Linked DNA regions of Homo sapiens: regions 1 and 2 are each linked to region 3. The links are contacts of gene promoters, found by promoter capture Hi-C in blood cells and fetal thymus (Javierre and others, 2016). All regions are on one chromosome and are shown on one strand. Each heading gives the region's core, a stretch centred on a gene start or on the middle of the fragment in contact. The rest is flanking DNA. Distances are from core to core; before and after follow the strand shown.

Region 1 (2,700 bases), core at 34-2,533, 3.5 Mb before region 3:
GTGCTGGGATTACAGGTGTGAGCCACCGCGCCCAAACGAATGCATCATATTTTATTGGACTCCTACTTTGAAATATTTAGGAATTTTCAGTGTTTACTATGACAAATAGCACTGTGATTAAAAAAAAATGTAGTCAAATCCACTTTTGCTGTTGATTTTTTTTTTTTTAATCTGTAGAGACATCGTCTCGCTATGTTGCCCAGGCTGGTCTGGAACTCCTGGCCTCAAGCGATCCTCCTGCTTTGGCCTCCCAAAGTGCGTGGGCCACCGTGACCAGCAGTTATTTATTTTCTTTGGTTGTGTGTGTGTGTGTGTGTGTGTGTGTGTGTGTGTGTGTGTATGTATGTATTGAGACGGAGCTTGCTCTGTTGCCCAGGCTAGAGTGCAGTGGCACGATCTCGGTGCATGCAACCTTCACCTCCCGGGTTCAGGCGATACTCGTGCCTCAGCCTCCCGAGTATCTGGGATTACAGGCGTGAGCCACCATGCCCAGCTAATTTTTGTATTTTCAGTAGAGACGGGGGGTGCGGGTGGGGGAATTTCACCATGTTGACCAGGCTGGTCTCGACTCCTGACCTACGGTGATCCGCCTGCCTCGGTCTCCCAAAGTGCTGGAATTATGGGCGTGAGCCACCGCGCCGGGCCAGCTATTGATTTTTTGAAAGGATTTTTAAAAAATAATGTTGCTTTGAAAATTTTTATTTATGACTAGCTCTTTTGGTTAAAACTTGGCTATGGTTTCTCTGGAGTGATCCTGAGTTGGATAATTTTGGGAAAGTTAGAGAATCTAATTAAAAACATTTTCAAATGCTTATTAATTGTAACAAAAGAGATATCACAGGATCCATAAAGAGCGCTAGCCCGAAACGTCTTTTGATGCAGTAATTCCTGGGCACCGGCATCGCTCACATTCTCCTCTCAGAATTACACCGGGAGGGGTCGCGAACCTCTGCTAGCCGCTCTCGCTGCGATCCGGAGATACCCAGACACCGGACTCCTTGAGTTCACAGCCCGGATGCAGAAGGGAATCCTAGCAGCGCCGTACCGGATGTGTGAGTGGAAGTGACTGAGGTGAACTCACGACCGATTGGTTCTCCCGAGTGGACCCAAGCCTGTTTTCACCTGCCACTGGCCGCGTGGTTTGTCTATTTGAACAGTCCCCGCCCCCTGGAGAAGCCGGGTCCTGAAGCTTCTCTTCTTCATTACTATTGGCCTGTTTTTCAGTCCATCTTCTCCCTATACCTGTCGATTGGTCCTCAGGGCTGGGAACCCTCCTTCCCTCGCTCCCGGCTTAGAGGACAGCGGGGAAGGCGGGCGGTGGGGCAGGGGGCCTGAAGCGGCGGTACCGGTGCTGGCGGCGGCAGCTGAGGCCTTGGCCGAAGCCGCGCGGTGAGTCTAGGGCCTGGCACGACCCCTCTAGGGCGGCGTAATGTCCAGACCCACGGCCAGCCTGCCCGTGGGGGGGCCAGGGGAAGCCGCCCGTCTGGGACGTGGGGTCCCCACATTGCCGGCCCCACGACCTGGGCACCGTCTGAGGCCTTGACTCCCACCCCTCGAGGCAACGCCCACCTCCCCGGGACCCCCAAGAGACCCCTGGACCCTTCGGCCCGCGGTACGTCCGCCCGAAGGCCGGCCCATCAGCTCTGGTATTGCCCTTTGGGTCTTTTGCCTGTCACAGCCACCCTTTCTTTTGAGCCACGTATAAAAATTGTGTATCTCTGCCCCAGGGAACACTAGCGTCCGTGTCAGCCCCTTGTCCTCCACTGTGGACACCTCTCAGAGATCCAGTCCCCGAAACTGAGCTTGGTTACATCGTTGGGGTACATCTTCTCTCCCTCTCCCCCAGCCCCATCCCTGTTTCCCCCATCCAATCTTAACTTCCTTAAGCCCTATCAACACCATTAGGATATTTGACTTCAGATATCCTAAGTTTAATTGAATTCAGTCTGGAGCAGATGGCCTGTGGGCCTCAGATCATATAAAGATACACTGGTTCTTTCCTGAGAATAGAAATCCCTTGCCAGCCACCTTCCCCCCTTTCGGACGCACACACATACACACAAACTGGAGTAGTTTTCTTAGCAGGGATTCTTAAGTTTCTTCTCCCCTAAAGGATGACATTTCTTTCTGCAGTCTTCTTCTTGGCAGTGGAGTATTTGAAAGCTTTACAAAACCAATTATTCCCAGGTTTTTCCTCTGTGCCTTACAAATTCTTTCAAAAATAAGAATTTTGAGAAATTGGTTTTGTAGCATAAGCTGAACATACTTGGGATAGGTGTATGTTACACCCATGGCAGTGTGGGCATAATTGAGGAATGAGGGAATGAGCTCAGGAACTAATTGGTGTTTTTTGTTTTGTTTTGAGACGGAGTTTCGCTCTGTCGCCCAGGCTGGAGTGCAGTGGCTCGATCTCTGCTCACTGCAAGCTCCGCCTCCCGGGTTCCCGCCATTCTCCTGCCTCAGCCTCCCGAGTAGCTGGGACTACAGGCGCCCGCCACCATACGGCTAATTTTTTTTTTTTTTTGTATTTTTAGTAGAGGCGGGATTTCACCGTGTTGGCCAGGATGGTCTCGATTTCCTGACCTCGTGATCCGCCCGCCTCGGCCTCCCAAACCCGGCCAGGAACTAATTACTTTCTTTTAGCTTACATTTGAAGAGCTAGTCCCCTGTAGAACTGCGTTGTTCAGTACAAGAACCACC
Region 2 (3,088 bases), core at 386-2,885, 3.9 Mb after region 3:
TCAAAAAAAAAAAAGAAAAGAAAAGAACAGTGGGCCTGGCACGGTGGCTCACGCCTGTAATCCCAGCACTTTGGGAGGCCAAGGTGGGCGGATTATTTGAGGTCAGGAGTTCGAGACCAGCCTGACCAACATGATGAAACCCCATCTCTACTAAAAATACAAAAATTAGCCAGGTGTGGTGGCGCCTGCCTGTAATCCCAGCTACTCAGGAGGCTGAGGCAGGAGAATGGCTTGAGCCCATGAGGCGGAGGTTGCAGTGAGCTGAGATCGCGCCACTGCACTCCAGCCTGGGTGACAGAGCGAGACTCCGTCTCAAAAAACAAACAAACAAACAAAAAAACCCACAACAGAACAGTGGTCCTCAGCTTTACAAACACCTCCCTCAGCGGCGGCCAAAGAGGACGCATCACAGCAGCCCAGGCCTGCTAGGGGCGTGTTTGCTGGAGGAGGCGTGGCCGCCGTGTGTCCATCCAGACCTGATAGGGCGCGGCCATTGGAGGAGGCGTGGCCGCTGCGGGTCCACCCAGGCCTGCTAGGGGCGTGGCCATTGGAAAAGGCGTGGCCCCTGCGAGTCCACGTTGGCCCCGGAGAGTAACGGGACGGCGGAGGGGTCATTTCCCGCCTTGCACGTAACGGGGGACGAAAACCGGCCCCCAGCCCGACGCCGGACCCTGGCCTCCTGGGCCCACCGACGGCCTCCACTAAGGCCCCCTCCCGCCCGCAACGTGGGGGACAGCTGAGGCCACTTCCCGGGCGGGCCACCCCAACCCAAAGCGGCATGTCGCGGGGCAGCACAGCCTGCGACAAGCGCGCAAAGCTCCCCAGCGGGACCGCAGCACGGGCAGGCCTGGGAGTCCCTCGCGCTGCTCAAGGCCGCTAACCGGCACTCAGAAACCAGCGCTCTGCGGCACTGGAGAAAGCACTTCCCGCCCTCCTGCAGGCTGTTAGCCAGGGGATGCAAGGGGAGGGGCCCCTCACGGACGTCCCGCCCGCCCCTCTCAAACATGGCGGCCACAGGCGCACCAAAGGAAGAGCCCCTCACAAACATGGCCGTCCGCCCCTCTCATACATGGCGCCAAAGAGGCTTCAAGGGAAGCGCCCCTCACGAACATGGTTGCCTGCCCCTCTCAAACATAGCGGCCACAGGCGCACCAAGAGAAGCGCCCCTTACAAACATGGCCGTCTGCCCCTCTCAAACATGGTGGCCAAAGAGGCTTCAAGGGAAGAGCCCCTCAAGAACATGGTTGCTCCCCCCTCAAGAACATAGTTGCCCACCTCGCTCAAACATGGCGGCCACAGGTGCACCAAGGGAAGCGCCGTTCACGAACATGGCCGTCTGCCCCTTTCAAATATGGCGAACACAGAAGCTACAAAAAAAGCACCCCCCGCAAACATAATCTCTCAGGCCTGCCACGGGCGTGGGAAACATAGCGGCTACAGGGGTGCCAAGGGACGCGCCCTCATGAACATGGCCGGCCACAGGCCGACTTCCTGCTCCAGTGTCCCACCACTGGCCCAAGGCCTGTGACCTTCGCCCGCCGCTTACGAAAGAGCCAACACGGGGGGGGGGGGGGGGGGAATCACATGACGAGGGTGCTGCACTGTGATTGGCTGTGCTGACGTCGGACGCCGCCGCGGCGCGCTCTGCAGACTCCGGGTCGCCGCTCCGCCGGGACGCGTTGGCCGGGGCGCGCGGTGCTTGGCTGCGGTGCTCACACTCATGAGGAGCCGGAAGGTGAGGGCTGGGTCCCGGCAGCAGCTGCGCCGGGCAGGGCGGGGACTCTGGGTCACCTGCTGTCTGGAGAACCGGGGCGGGGTCACGGGGTGCCTGTGGCCTAGGAGCGGCCTCCGCTTGGGCCTCGCCCCCGGCAGTAGTTGGGGGGCTCCAGGCCACGCTCCCGGGAGAAGGAGGGCTGCCAGGTCACGCCCCTGTGAAAAGGGGGCTCCGGGCCACGCCCTCGGAAGAAGTGGAGCTCACAGGTCACGTCCCCGGGAGAAGGGGGCTCCCAGGTTACCCACCCCCGCAGAATGGGGCCTCTGGGCCACACCCCCGAGAGAAGGGGAGCTCCCAGGCCATGCCCGCGGGAGAAGGGGGGCTCCGGTCCACGCCCTCGGGAGAAGTGGAGCTCACAGTTCACGTCCTGGGCAACAGGGGGCTCCCAGGTCACGCCCCCTTGAAGGGAGGTTTCGGGCCACTTTCCTAGGAAGGTGGGGCACCCTCTCCAGAACTGGTTTCAACTCCTGGTAGTGCTAGATGCTGCAGAGCTGAGTTTGTGCCCCTCAACTGCTGCCACTCCAATGGACGTCACACAGCAAGTGACCTCAGCTTGGCCCCATCTACTGAATGTGCTAAAAGTGGGGTGATGAGGGATCCACCAAGAGGGTGGTGAGGATTGAAGGGGGGTGCCAGTGTCTGGCAAGGGGCAAGTGCTCATTGCGTGGGTGTAACAGTTAAGGCGAAGGACCCTTTTCACAGTGGACCCGGCGCGGGTCCCGGTCCACTTGGGAGGCTCTGAGCTGCATGGAGGCTCTCCTGGTTTGTTCAAATGGAGTGGCCACTTGTGAATTCCAACTCCTTTTACTATTTTTATCTTTGAACCAAAACTTGTCTCCTGTAGGCACATATACTTGGATCTTTTTTAAAATGCAGTCTGGTAGTTTCTGCCTTTTGATTGAATTGTTTAGCCCATGCACATTTAATATTATTGATACACTGTAGTTAGGTTTACATTTGCCATTTTACTTTTTCTTTTCTTTATACAAGTCTGTCTTTTTCTTCCCCTGTTCCTTCTTTAAGTGGATTAAAGTGAATATTTCCTAATGTAGCATTTTAATTTAATGATTTTTTTTCCACAACTTTTTTGGGTTTTTTCCAGTGCTTTATGTTTTACCGTATACAGCTTAATCTTCATATTCTCCATATACATCTTAAGCTTCAGATTTGTACTAGGTTAATTCCAAGTGATACAGAAATGTTACTCTTATATGGTTATTTTTGTGGTATTTTGTTATATGTATTACATCTGATAATGTTACAAACTCAACAGTACTGTGTTATCATTATTACTTTCTGTCTGTGGTCATTTCC
Region 3 (2,740 bases), core at 194-2,693:
TTTGTATTTTTTAGTAGAGACGGGGTTTCACCATGTTGGTCAAGCTGGTCTCGAACTCCTGACCTCAAGTGATCCGTCCACCTCGGCCTCCCAAAGTGCTGGGATTACAGGCATGAGCCACCGCGCCCGGCCCAGGAAGGTACTCATCTTTTAAAATCTTCATCAAAGGCTTTATTTCTCCCCATGCAGATCTTTCTTAACCACTCTGACTCTGAAGTCATTATTGGCTCCATTACTTGGAAAGTATCACTTTGGTTTTTCAGGTATAAAGTCCCGCCTCCTCGAATAGATCACAGGTTCCTGGGTCTTCTTACTCTCTTCTCTGTATCCTAGATAGCACCTAGCATGTGCCTTGGTATACAACAGTCTGATGGGCTGTTTGAACAGTCACTTTACATCTGTCATGTGTCAATGACCAGGGCTACAACAGATCTCATCACCGTCCTCACGGAGTTTAGTATCTGGTAGATAAGTAAGGACCATGCCGTGGCGCTAGACTCTTTCCATGCTTTTCCTCCTTTAACCCTCATAACTCTCTGAGGGGAATATTACTCCTATTTTACAAATGAGTAAAGTGAGGTTTAGAGAGTCAACACAGCTGGCTGCAGGACAGCTTGTTTTTAGATCAGGTCCTGTGTACCTTGGCTCTAGATCTTAACCACTGTGATCTATTGGCACAGCAGCCTCAGCAGGAACATTCGAGGGGGGTCCCCAGCTCCTGGAAGAAACCCGGGGCTTCCTCCGACGGTGAGCAATGAGCAGAATGGAGGTGGAAGAGGGAGTCCTTGTGATTCTTAACCATTAGCATTCTCTGAGTCTTACCACTGGAAGCAGGGGTTTGCAACGTGCTTTCGCTTAAGAGAGCGAAGGCCCACGGTTAAGTGATCTTTCCAGTGCAGATGCCCCTAGCTAGGCAAGGAGCTCTTCGGCCCACAGGGGCTCAGGACAGGGCCGAGGTCCTTTCTTTCGCAACTTCTGGGGCCCAGCGCAGCACCGGGCCGAGAGCGGGCGCTCCCGAACCAGGGCTGTCGTCCCCATTCCTCTCAGGGACGTCGGGGACTAGAAAGGGAAGGGGCGAGGAGCGGGCTGCGGGCGGGCAGCTCACTTCCTCCGGGAAGCGTCTCGCCGCCCCGCCCTTGCCCCTTCCGCGTCCGCCCGATGGCCGCGGGACCCGCCCGGCCCGTCTGCAGCCCGCGACCCAAGGGCCACCGCCCACCCCCAGGCCTCGGGATCCCCGCGCAGCCCCGGCCTGCGTCCGAGTGGCGGCCGGCGGCAACTGGGCAGTATGGCGGTCCCAGCGCGAGCTGCCGCCTGCGGGGCCCGAAGCCGCCCGCGTCGCGTAGCGTCACTCACATTTTGGCAGCTGCGGCGGCGGCAGCGGCGACGAGAGAGGGTCAGCAGAGAAGCGAAGTTGGGACCGGAGGCCAGGGAGATGGGTGGGACGGCGCGGCGCGGGGCAAAGACGTCACTAGGCGGAGCCGGGGGAGTGGGCGGGGCGAAGAGGGGGCGCGCCGGAAGTGGGCGGGGGCGTCGTGGGTGGGTGCGTCCAGGGCGGGGTCAGAGCGAGACGTCCCCTCCCCGGACGAGGTCACTTGGGAACTTGAGGGCCACAGGGGTCCCAGGGCGGTCCGGGCTCTGAAACGCAGAACGCAGGTCAATACAGCTCCCTGTCCGCACCGCCGTCCGCGCTGGCGCTTGGGGACGTGGTCTGTAAACGTGGTGCATTAGCCACTGGCGAGGGACTGCGTGGATAAGTGAGGGTGGGGGCAATTCATGTTATTCTGGGCTCGGGACCATTTCTAACAGTATTAGAGACAGATGACTGGCTTCTGCTGAGTGTTCCAGAGTAACCTAGTGATCCTGAGGGCACCATGTTTCTCTAAAGTAGTTGAAATAGGAAGTCCATTTCGGGTATTTGTCACATGGTGTTGGGTGAGGTTCCCGCTCATGTTTTCATCGGTGACACAAATATTTGTCACTGCAGATCATATTATAATCTGCTTACGAGAGCCTTGGCATCAAGGCTGTAGTTCCTTTATTTCTGTATTTTCAGGCCCTAGCACAGAATAGGTCCTCAGGTTTTGGTCGAAGGGAGGGAAGCACAAATCTGAACGCAGTGAGTTACCTTGTATATATTTGTTACTGAAATATTCCTACCAACATAGTTACCTACACCAAAAAATAAAACACTAATAGGTCATTGGTGGGTCTCTTAGATGAGAAGTGAAAAATACAGTACTTAAATACTATGCTGTTTTTTCCAACTCTAAATAGAATACTTTGAAAAGGGAAACGTTAGTATATATCGAATAAACGAGTGTCACAAAGGCGGTGGGATTTGAGCTGGGTACTAGTGGAAAAGAACTTTCCAAGTAAGGGTTGGGCAAACACCATGAACAAAGACAGCAGTGAAAATGGACGCAGTGTGCACAGACCACCTAGAGGGTGCAGGTTGGGTACAAGTGAAAAGAAGACTGAATAAAGAGGATAAACAAACAAGAAAAATGTCATTTAATTGTAGTGGGCCCTGGAAACCATTGACTTACGGACGTGGGAGATCCATGATGCAAAATTTCTCTGGCAGTAGTGGCCAGATGGATTAGATGGAAGAGGGAGCACTAGGGAGATAAGGAGAGGCTCTGCAGTGAACGGGAAGGGAGCGGCGATGACACAATACTCAGAAAGGACGACGTTCGTAATCTGCTGGAAAATGCCTTTTAGAAGACTTTAGAGGATTGTA

The links. The method cuts DNA at HindIII sites, captures the fragments that hold promoters and counts their contacts. A CHiCAGO score of 5 or more calls a contact.
Region 1: the fragment with the promoter of MTOR here is called in contact with the fragment with the promoter of VAMP3 in region 3 in 2 of 17 cell types (total B cells and fetal thymus); the score reaches 6.9 in total B cells.
Region 2: the fragment with the promoter of C1orf174 here is called in contact with the fragment with the promoter of VAMP3 in region 3 in 1 of 17 cell types (M0 macrophages); the score reaches 6.0 in M0 macrophages.

The regions. Positions count from the first base shown.
Region 1 is chr1:11,261,134-11,263,833 of GRCh38, reverse strand. MTOR (mechanistic target of rapamycin kinase) reads left to right here and starts at 1,283. Exons shown (of 58, transcript NM_004958.4): 1 at 1,283-1,389. RefSeq lists an enhancer at 936-1,095 and a silencer at 1,516-1,565. The HindIII fragment of the contact is 974 bases long and covers 1,192-2,165 here.
Region 2 is chr1:3,898,819-3,901,906 of GRCh38, reverse strand. C1orf174 (chromosome 1 open reading frame 174) reads left to right here and starts at 1,635. Exons shown (of 4, transcript NM_207356.3): 1 at 1,635-1,735. The coding sequence starts at 1,721. LINC01134 (long intergenic non-protein coding RNA 1134) reads right to left here and starts at 1,503. Exons shown (of 4, transcript NR_024455.1): 1 at 1,276-1,503. RefSeq lists silencers at 555-734, 1,815-1,884 and enhancers at 935-1,194, 834-1,403, 1,404-1,972, 1,973-2,543. The HindIII fragment of the contact is 4,148 bases long and covers 1-2,935 here.
Region 3 is chr1:7,769,999-7,772,738 of GRCh38, reverse strand. VAMP3 (vesicle associated membrane protein 3) reads right to left here and starts at 1,443. Exons shown (of 5, transcript NM_004781.4): 1 at 1,354-1,443. The coding sequence starts at 1,355. RefSeq lists silencers at 1,080-1,309, 1,274-1,516 and enhancers at 1,750-1,799, 1,543-2,239. The HindIII fragment of the contact is 4,711 bases long and covers 1-2,740 here.